4 separate regions of the Homo sapiens genome follow, and regions 2, 3 and 4 are each linked to region 1. The links are contacts of gene promoters, found by promoter capture Hi-C in blood cells and fetal thymus (Javierre and others, 2016). All regions are on one chromosome and are shown on one strand. Each heading gives the region's core, a stretch centred on a gene start or on the middle of the fragment in contact. The rest is flanking DNA. Distances are from core to core; before and after follow the strand shown. Region 1 holds the start of SNAPIN (SNAP associated protein). Region 2 overlaps RAB13 (RAB13, member RAS oncogene family). Region 3 has its middle 3.4 kb from the start of S100A9. Region 4 has its middle 4.9 kb from the start of S100A8.

Region 1 (2,523 bases), core at 16-2,515:
AGCCCAGGAGTTCCAGACCAGCCTGGGCAACATGGAGAAACCCTACTTCTACAAAAAAATACAAAAATTAGCTGGGCGTTGTGCACGCTTGTAGTCCTAGTTACTCGGGAGGCGGAGGCAGAATTGCTTGAGCCCAGGGGGCGGAGGTTGCAGCGAGCTGAGATTGAGCCACCGCACTCCAGCCTGGGTGACAGAGGGAGACTGTCACACACACACACACAAGAATGTAAATGGCAGCAACTGAATAGTGAGAATGAGACGAATTTTCCTAGGTATTTTTCAAGTACTGGGAGAAGTGAATTTCCCTTTCCCCAAAGAATTTTAAAATTACAGTGGCTTTCACTGTGTTGAGGACTTACAAAAAAGGGCAAAGAATCACTGTTGGTAAGATATTCTTTTACCTGAGCATTCTGTAGAATGTTGTTAACCAAGACAACGCGTCGCCGGGCATTAAGTAGCTTCTTAACATAGGGGTCAAGATCCAGGGCCACCTTCTGATCCTCATTTATGCGGCACAGTTCTGGGGATGGAAGTAAGGTGCAGCTAAGATCTAACGGCTTATCTCTTGTTCTGAGGGAAAGCAGGCTGGTAATGGGATGGAAAACACTTGCACCCAAACGGGCCACAGCCATTAGAGATTTAAGACATCCCTGAAAGGAGGAGTCCTTTGGCAGCCCTGATGCCCTGGAAGCAAGTGACAGAAACTCAGCCCAGGGGTTGGCAAAAACCTAAGGTCCTGAAAGTGGGCTGAAGAATTCCGGGTACACAGGGATGCTCACTCACCTGTGGCTAGGTTGTCAATTTGTTCCCGGAGCTCTACCTGGCTCTCTCTGCAAAGAGGTACAAGGCCTACAAGGTCAGGCAGTTACCGGAGCTCAGGAAACGAACTCCCCTACGTATTTACCAAGTACTGAGAGAAGCCGGCCTCCGCTGAACCCTCCACCTGCGGCCTTCCCGCCTGTCCTCCCCGCCTCGAATCAGTTTCCTAAATTTATGCCCACTCCCAGCCAGAACACTTTCTTGGCCCCGCCCCTACAAAGCCAGAGAGACAGGCCCCGCCCCCAACTTCCCTCCCGGGCACCTGACGGCGTGTACGTGAGAGTCGAGCTGCTGCACAGCGGGTCGCAGGAACTCCAGCAGCCCTTCGGCGAAAAGGTCGCGGCCTGTGGGCCCCGCCACCGGGGTCCCTGCCCCCGATACAGCGGCGGAACCAGCCCCCGCCATCACGAATTGTCCTGAAGCCCGAAACCTGCCGCGAGGGCCGCCGGGAACCGGAGCCGCGCCGCACTGCCCCGCCCCGTGAGGGGGCGCCCGGGAAATGCTGTCTCCACCAAGACACCGGGGTTTCTGGGAAATGGAGTCTAGCGCGAACCGGGCGGGGAGGAGGGCCAGGCCGTAGGAGTAGAGGCCTTGTGGCTGGTCTTGAAAATCTCCAAAGTTCAGGTTGTAGAAAGGAACCAGTTTTTGGAGTGGATACTTTTCGTTTTCTTTAAAGGTGAAAATAAACGCGAATACCTGCAGTTGTCCATAGCCTTCCCATGTTAACTTTATGAGATAGCCGGGCATGGTGGCGGGCACCCAGCTACTTGGGAGACTGAGGCAGGAGAACCGCTTGAACCCGGGAGGCGGAGATTGCAGTGAGCCGAGATCGCGCCACTGCACTCCAGTCTGGGCAACAGAGAGACTCCGCCTCAAAAAAAAAAAAAAAAAAAAAAAAAGCAACCCAAACCAAACAAAAACAAACCAAAAACAAAAACACTTTATGAGAAAGCCACATTATATTCATAGTATCGTTTTCTATTTCTAAAGAGTTTATTGTGGTTGGTTGTTTTTAAGACAAGGTCTCTCTCTGTCGCCTAGGCTGGAGTGCAGTGCCACCGTCTTGGCTCACTGTAGCCTTCACCTCCTGGGGTCAAGAGGTCCTCCTGCTTCAGTCTCCCAAGTAGCAGGGACCACAGGTGTTAGCCACCATGCCTGACTAATTTTTCATTTTCTGTAGAGAAGAGGTCTCACTATGTTTGTTGCCCAGACTGGTCTCGAACTCCTGGGCTCAGGTGATCCTCCCAACTCAGCCTCCTAAAGTGCTGGGATTACAGACGTGAGCCACCACGCCTGGTCTATTTCTAAAGAGTATATTTTTAATGGCATTAAATATGTAAAAAACTGCATGTATCCGAATTTCATTCCTTTTTAAGGCTGAATAATATAAACATGCAGGCAGGGCATGGTGGCTCACTCCTGTAATCCCAGCACTTTGGGAGGCTGAGGCGGGAGGATCACCTGAGCCCAGGAGTTCGAGATCAGTCTGGGCAACAAACCTAGTGAGACTCTGTCTCTACAGGAAATAAAAAATTAGCCAGGCGGCCAGGCGCAGTGGCTCACGCCTGTAATCCCAGCACTTTGGGAGGCCGAGGCGGGTGGATCACGAGGTCAGGACATCGAGACCACGGTGAAACCCCATCTCTACTAAAAATACAAACAATTAGCCGGGCGCAGTGGCGGACTCCTGTAGTCCCAGCTACT
Region 2 (2,523 bases), core at 9-2,508, 320 kb before region 1:
GCTGGGATTACAGGCGCCCGCCACTAGGCCGGGCTAATTTTTGTATTTTTAGTAGAGACGAGGTTTCACCATGTTGGCCAGGCTGGTCTTGAACTCCTGACCTCAGGTGATCCACCCGCCTCAGCCTCCCAAAGTGTTGGGATTATAGACGCAAGCCACGGCACCTGGCGTGTTTCCTCATTTTTAAAATAGAGACAATAATACATGTCTTACAAGGAAAGAGTAAGGATTAGATAAAATGATACATACACAGTGCTTGACACATAGCAAACATTCAATGAATAAGCAAAGACATCTTGTTTCTTGGGCCACTACCATCTCTGGAAATCAGCTCAACTGTCTTTAATCCCGTTCCCCTTTACTGTTTCCTTATTCTGTTGCCCCACCATGTTACAAAAGCTAAATTCTTGTGAGAGAGGAAGAATTATTCCGTTGGAGAATTCTTCCCTCTATTCCATCCCATGAAAACTTCTCCTTCTTTAGGGACACGGCTGGCCAAGAGCGGTTCAAGACAATAACTACTGCCTACTACCGTGGAGCCATGGTATGAAGTGTGGGTCTGAACAAAGGATGAAGGATGAGGCTACAGAATATATTATGAATACAAAGGGTCAGGGGTTGGGGCAGGTAAAAATGGGAGGGGTGCAGTGTGGGTTGCAGAGGGCCCAACATGGCCTAGTGTTTAGACCCATGGATGCGGGGTCACTTACAGGGCAGTGGGAAGCCTCAATGGGAACATGGTCCAAGGTGAATTTTGTCATCTCCCAGGGCATTATCCTAGTATACGACATCACGGATGAGAAATCTTTCGAGAATATTCAGAACTGGATGAAAAGCATCAAGGAGGTGAGGACCCTCCAAAAGAGATGGGGAAACTGGTTAGAACCTGGAGAATGAAGGGGTCCATCAGGATAGGCAAGACCTAACTTTTTTTTTTTTGAGATGAAGTTTTGCTCTTGTTGCCCGGGCTGGAGTGCAATGGCAGGATCTCGGCTCACTGCAACCTCTGCCTCCCAGGTTCAAACGATTTTCCTGCCTCAGCCTCCCAAGTAGCTGGGATTACAGGCATGCACCACCATGCTCGGCTAATTTTGCATTTTTAGTAGAGACGGGTTTTCTCCATGTTGGTCAGGCTGATCTTGAACTCCTGCATCAGGTGATCCACCCGCCTTGGCCTCCCAAAGTGCTGGGATTACAGGCGTGAGCCACCGCTCCCAGCCGGCAGGACCTAACTTTTACTTGTCTTTTGCCCCCAGAATGCCTCGGCTGGGGTGGAGCGCCTCTTGCTGGGGAACAAATGTGACATGGAGGCCAAGAGGAAGGTGCAGAAGGAGCAGGCCGATAAGGTGAGGGCCAGGCTGAGCAATGTTCTAGAACTGGGCTGGGAGGGCCAAGATAGGTTGCATTGCAGAGGACTTGGCTGCTGTCCTTAATTCAATTCTCTTCCCACTTCACCCCTTATAGTTGGCTCGAGAGCATGGAATCCGATTTTTCGAAACTAGTGCTAAATCCAGTATGAATGTGGATGAGGTGAGATCCACACCCCCATCCCCGACCAAGAGAGGAAGTATTAGAAGGTAGATTCTCCTCCCTCCAAACTGACTCTGTTCCCCACTTTAGGCTTTTAGTTCCCTGGCCCGGGACATCTTGCTCAAGTCAGGAGGCCGGAGATCAGTAAGTTGGTTTTGCTGGACTAGGTACAACTCTGGGGTGTGTGTGTGTGTATGTATGTGTGTGTGTGTGTGTGTGTGTGTGTGTGTGTTGGTGTTGATAAAAACGGGGAGCAATGCTAAGATTTCTCATGAGGGTGGATTTACTTTAAACAGTTTATACCCTCCTACCCTAACCATCCATTCACACCATGACACCTGTGCCCTTCTCCCTCTAGGGAAACGGCAACAAGCCTCCCAGTACTGACCTGAAAACTTGTGACAAGAAGAACACCAACAAGTGCTCCCTGGGCTGAGGACCCTTTCTTGCCTCCCCACCCCGGAAGCTGAACCTGAGGGAGACAACGGCAGAGGGAGTGAGCAGGGGAGAAATAGCAGAGGGGCTTGGAGGGTCACATAGGTAGATGGTAAAGAGAATGAGGAGAAAAAGGAGAAAAGGGAAAAGCAGAAAGGAAAAAAAGGAAGAGAGAGGAAGGGAGAAGGGAGAGGAATGAATTGAGGAAGTGAAAGAAGGCAAGGAGGTAGGAAGAGAGGGAGGAGGAAAGGAAGGAGAGATGCCTCAGGCTTCAGACCTTACCTGGGTTTTCAGGGCAAACATAAATGTAAATACACTGATTTATTCTGTTACTAGATCAGGTTTTAGGGTCCTGCAAAAGGCTAGCTCGGCACTACACTAGGGAATTTGCTCCTGTTCTGTCACTTGTCATGGTCTTTCTTGGTATTAAAGGCCACCATTTGCACAAATGTTCCTGTTTTGGGTAACTTGGATTATTGTCAGAATTGTTCTCCACTCAAATCCAATTATTGTGTCTTCAAAGTGATTGATTTACCCAAATCAGGCTCGGTTTCTGTG
Region 3 (2,523 bases), core at 15-2,514, 300 kb after region 1:
GTGTGCTCCCATGGCGCCCTCTGCTGCCTCTGACAAAGCACTTCTCACTCAGGACCAAGGATCTCCAACTCACCCTTGCGGGAACCAGACCCAAGGTGAAGCTGGTGGGGCATGAGAACATCAACGGCAGCAGTAGGGCAACTTGTGGCCACTGATATGGGGCCTCAGGGTTGGGGACACTGGACAGTGGTGGCAACTGTGGGGAATGAGAACGTTCCTACCTTGAAGGGACAGCCAGTGTCAGGCCAGGGCTGCCACGTGGGAAAGTAGACCAGATGTTCTTGGACCTCCTGAGGGCCCAGGACATCTGAAGCTTTATATGAAAATTCCTGTTTAATACAATTTGTCCATTAATTTAAAATAAAAACAAAAAAAGCATGACAATGAAGCAGGGTGTGTGTGACTCAAACCCTGAGTGATGGTGTGCGGCAGGCATCTCTGCTTTGTCATGGAGCTCTCAACTTTCAGGTGGACTTTCTGATTCCTCCACACCACTGTGGCTCCTCTAGGCAGGGATGCTGCCTGCTACCCTCCAAAGTCTTAGCACCAGGCAAGGGCTGGCTCAGAGGCACTGGATGAACGCTTGTTGATTGAATAAATTCAGGAGTGCATGAATCAATGATGAAATGAGTGAATGTGACATAAACACTGGCCTGTCACCCTCTGTTCTGTGACTTTCTGCAGAGCCACTGACTGTGGTCATTTAGTGCTGATTCAGAATGAAAGTAAAATAGGGAGTTGGGGGAGAGAAGGCTCAGCAGTGGGTGGGAATGAGCAGCTGGTCAGGGTTTCAAAACAGACGGGAATCTGCACTTGGGGGATCTGATGCTGACAGTGGGCCCCCATCTTAGAAGGCCACTGCAGGCCCCCAGGTTCCAGGCTAGCCCAGGCGCAGGTGAGGCCAGGGCTGAGCCATTCTGGTTCTGACCGGAGCAGACAATTCCTGGCATGATCAGTAGGTGGCCGACACCCACCTGCCTCCTCACTGCCAGCCGAGGCCAGAGGTTGGACTGAGGGATGGTGGGATGGGGGTCTTCCCCTCTGGGTACTGATTTTCCAGGGAAAGTCGGAGCCTTCTGCTAGGGCATGAAGTGGGTGGGCCAATTTTCCTGGCTCTGTACAATGACTCGAGGTTTTCACTGGGAGAAAAGGGTGTGGCTTTTTGGGTTAAAAAACAAATAAGTGGCCGGGCACGGTGGCTCACGCCTGTAATCCCAGCACTTTGGGAGCACGAGGCGGGTGGATCACAAGGTCAGGAGTTCGAGACTAGCATGGCCAACATGGTGAAACCTCCATCTTTACTAAAGATACAAAAAATTAGCCGGGTGTGGTGGTGCGCACCTGTAATCCCAGCTACTCAGGAGGCTGAGGTAGGAGAACCGCTTGAACCTGGGAGGCAGAGGTTGCAGTGAGCCAAGATCGCGCCATTGCACTCTGGCCTGGGTGGCAGGGTGAGACTCCATTTCAAACAAACAAACAACCAAGCAAGTAAACAAACAAGCAGGCAGAGGTTCCTGCAGCTACCATCAAATCACTGTGCTCTTTCCCAGATGCCTGGGACCCACTGCGGGTCTGTCTTTCCCTTCTCTGCAGCTCCCACTGTGGTCTTTCAGGGAGCTTTACCCCTCCTGTGTTGTAATGGGGGTGTTACAGCAGGCACACAGTGGGACCCGGACTGAGGGACTGAGCTGGTTTTAGTCCTTAGCTTTCTCAGACTTGCTGGTGGTCTTTAGAAGTGATTTCCATGTTCGGGCCTCCATTTTCTTATCCATTACATGAGGAGATTGGGACAGCTGACCCTTAGGTCATTTCTAGCACAGATTCCAAGTTTTGATGGACTCTTGGTGGGCTTCATGACTACTACTAGCCTCATGGCCCCTGGACACTGTCTCCTGGCTTACTTGCTCCACCTGCAGGTGAAGTCAGGTCCCTCTCCTCACAGGGACTCTGATGCCTGAGGCCCAGCCCCACTCAGGCTGCGCACAGCCTGCTGCCTATTCCTCCACTCCCTGTCTTCCTCCTTGCTGGGAGTCCCAAGTGCTCTTCCTTGGAGATCTCTGGGTACGGGTCTCCTAACCACAAGCGCCCTAACATCCCCCATTTCCCCAGTGCTCATTCTAGACTCTAGTGCATTAGGATGACTTACAGAAGCTATCCACGGGTAGCTTCAGACCATTGTTCTACCACGTTTGGGCTCAGTCCACATCAAGCTTTGACCACCCCTGGCATCCTTGTGGCCTCCCTTGACTGGCCATCCTGAGGTCTCTGAGGCCCTCTGCTGAGAGCAGCCGCACTCCCTGCCCCCATGCTGGGCTGCTCCAGCATCCACAGTGAGGACCCTCCAATGATCTGGCTTCTTAGACATTCAACCTAAGCTTCCCCAAGTCTGGACCTCTCCCCCTGTCTCCACCTTGGCTGCCTCTGCTCATCATCCTCCTAATTTCTCAGACATGCCACCTTCAAAATTGAGAAAGCTGGCATTCCCTTTTGTTGCCTGGCTTCTGTTGCTCCAACCCTTTCTCC
Region 4 (2,523 bases), core at 10-2,509, 270 kb after region 1:
GCCAGTGCTTCTGCTTAAGTCAGGAGTGTGGAATACACTCCGCATTGCAGAAACGGAGATTATGGAGCTCTGAGAGACACCACAGTGATCTTGCTATAGTTTTCTCCAATATATAGTGCAAAGGTGAGCAGCTGACCTGAATGTGGCCCAGGCTAAAAAAGGTGGGAAAGGTTCCAGGGTTCACCAAGCCACATCTCAGGTCAACTCAACATTTAGGGGAACTCACAAGAGAAAAGATAGTAACAGGAGTACAAAAAAGGAGCGAGTACCCTGATTCTGCCTTTCAGCTATCCACATTGGTGGTGGCAGTGGTGGTGGTGGGGTGTGTGTGTGTGTCAGGGTGGTGAGGGGCAACCTATCCCAGCGCCTTTGATTCCCCTTGAAAGTGCACTATTGGACTTGCTGTCAATGGATTCTTTTGGGGAGAGTTACTATTCTCAGTTGTCTGCCATTACTTGGAAGTCCAATAAGTCTTCTTTTTCTGAGCCTACCAGAAGAGGAAGGTGGCCCACGGTGCCCTTTGGAGTTTCACCATAAGTGATGGGTACTGGTTGTGAAGAATTGGGTCGACAGTTGATTCTTGAGTGCACAGTTGGGCAGGGGAGGTGGCCCAGCTGTCACTGGCCATCTGGAGAAGAGAAGTGAGAGAGGCAGGCCTTGGAAGCTTCCCAGAGGACGCAGGCTTGGAGATGATGATTTACAAACAAGACCGTGCCCATTACCGAAACCACACTGACTGGGCAGAATCAGACAGGACTTGTGGCCCAGAGCAAGATGACTTTGTTTCCTGTTTCCCCAGCTGCAAAAGAAGAACAAGGGAGTGGGAAGTTTAGAAATAAGTAGTTTAGCAGGAAATCGCATGCAACATTTGAGCCCACAAAGGAGTGCTTGGCTCACCAATTGAAGCAGATCTGGCAACTATGATTTCTGGGTCCTATAAGGATGACCTGTTTGAAGTCTTGCTTTTCCTTCCAAGTTCTTCGCCCAAGTGTCCTGACTTCAGGTGTGTTCCTGGTGGTTGTGACAAAAGTCTTAAAGGGCATGGAGAGAATCTGGACTTGGGCAGTCGGTCTACAGTGGCTGAGCAAAAGGCCTTATTCCAATGGAAAAGATTTTCCTGTTTATCCCTCCACTTGGGAACCAGAACAATTTTGATTGGGTCCAGAACCCAGCCCATTTTCTGCCCTCCTGCCTGGGGGAATTCAGTCTAAATTGAAATGGGCTGAAGAGGGGAGGGAAAGCTACCAACACTTACTGGGCTCCAGCTATGTGTCAGTGTGAAAGAAAAAAAATCATCTCAAACCTGGAAAAAGGCAAACTGATGATTGCTTATATTTTTGATCTCATGCTAGAGTCTGTCTGAAAAAAAGAAGGTCCTTGCTACTAGACCTCATCTGACACTTTTGAGAAAAGTGATCGGCAAAGCATGTTTGATAGCAATTCATAACAGATGATGTAGACAGTTTACCTCTGATGGATAGGGCAATATGGCTTTATAGGCTGGTCAAGACATTAAACCCAAAACTGTTATGGTTTGTTTTTGTCACCCTATGAAAAGTCAAAAGACTTGTATCTAGTCTTGTGTCTAAATTAAGAATCTTAGACATTACTTTCTAACTGTCTTTCATATTCTTAATATCTTTCAAACCAGTTCAAAAAAGTCTTCCTCACTGGTTCTCTCATTAATGAATTGAAACAAAAATTTTGACACAGGCCAATTATTTTGTTAATGATTTCGCTTTTTAGCTCAAGACATTGTGGTAACTTATCTCATTTCTCATAACAACCCTATGAGAGAGGTAACTACTATTTCCATTTTGTACATGAGTAGACTCAGAAACTTGACAAAGCTTATGAATCTGGCAAGTGGCAGAGGTAGAATCAGATCTCTACTGTCTCCAAGAAAGAGACCCTAATTAAAACATGAAGGTGCTCTCTTGTAGCCGTTTTCCACCCTGGGTGTGGATGGGACAGCCATTCCTCGCCTGCCTGCCTGGCCTCTTTCTCCTCATCCCCTATAGGGTCTCTGCTGTCCAGAGTGAGGAGTAGGGAGAGGAGGTACCAGATGAGCTTCTTTCTTGGGCCACTTTTCCTTGCCCAGGACTTTACCTGGCACACCTCAGGGCCTGAAGGACTGGTAGTTTTTTCCTGGTGTGAGCAATCCTCTAGGCAAAGATAATCTCCCTATGTATAGAGCAAGAGGATTGGGCATTTTGATTGCCCTAAACTCTTAGGGGTTGCCCCAGTAACAATTCTGTCTTCTTCCCTGGGCGGAGGAGCTTTCCTTCCAGTCTTAGATTTGGAAATTCCCCTGTGATCTAAAACACTGCTGAATCAGCCACCCATGTACTCAGGGCATCTCCATGCTGGAATAGTCAATCTGTGGCCTGTTGCCAATTTGAATGGGGCCCCAACAGCCATCGGTGGTTCTGATTGGAGAGTGATGGCCTCAATGCAGGTTACCTAGAACATAGACATAAAATCAGACAGATTTTAAACATGGTCAATGGTATGGGAAAGCAG

What was found. The method cuts DNA at HindIII sites, captures the fragments that hold promoters and counts their contacts. A CHiCAGO score of 5 or more calls a contact.
Region 2: a contact is called between a fragment that was not itself captured here and the fragment with the promoter of SNAPIN in region 1, in 12 of 17 cell types (fetal thymus, M2 macrophages, neutrophils and 9 more). The highest score is 9.3, in fetal thymus.
Region 3: a fragment that was not itself captured here is called in contact with the fragment with the promoter of SNAPIN in region 1 in 1 of 17 cell types (M0 macrophages); the score reaches 5.5 in M0 macrophages.
Region 4: a fragment that was not itself captured here is called in contact with the fragment with the promoter of SNAPIN in region 1 in 2 of 17 cell types (M1 macrophages and M0 macrophages); the score reaches 5.4 in M1 macrophages.

Annotation. Positions count from the first base shown.
Region 1 is chr1:153,657,445-153,659,967 of GRCh38, reverse strand. It overlaps SNAPIN (SNAP associated protein), which reads right to left and starts at 1,265. Exons shown (of 4, transcript NM_012437.6): 1 at 1,082-1,265; 2 at 784-830; 3 at 402-520. The coding sequence starts at 1,224. RefSeq lists an enhancer at 1,420-1,499. The HindIII fragment of the contact is 14,460 bases long and covers 1-2,523 here.
Region 2 is chr1:153,981,542-153,984,064 of GRCh38, reverse strand. It overlaps RAB13 (RAB13, member RAS oncogene family), which reads left to right. Exons shown (of 8, transcript NM_002870.5): 3 at 484-544; 4 at 769-846; 5 at 1,257-1,346; 6 at 1,465-1,530; 7 at 1,621-1,674; 8 at 1,889-2,415. The coding sequence ends at 1,966. Among named protein-coding and RNA genes, the nearest start is that of RAB13, 3.5 kb to the left of the region's middle. The HindIII fragment of the contact is 3,017 bases long and covers 1-2,523 here.
Region 3 is chr1:153,353,161-153,355,683 of GRCh38, reverse strand. No RefSeq gene overlaps it. Among named protein-coding and RNA genes, the nearest start is that of S100A9, 3.4 kb to the left of the region's middle. RefSeq lists a silencer at 1,884-1,933. The HindIII fragment of the contact is 1,897 bases long and covers 316-2,212 here.
Region 4 is chr1:153,384,908-153,387,430 of GRCh38, reverse strand. No RefSeq gene overlaps it. Among named protein-coding and RNA genes, the nearest start is that of S100A8, 4.9 kb to the left of the region's middle. The HindIII fragment of the contact is 1,186 bases long and covers 667-1,852 here.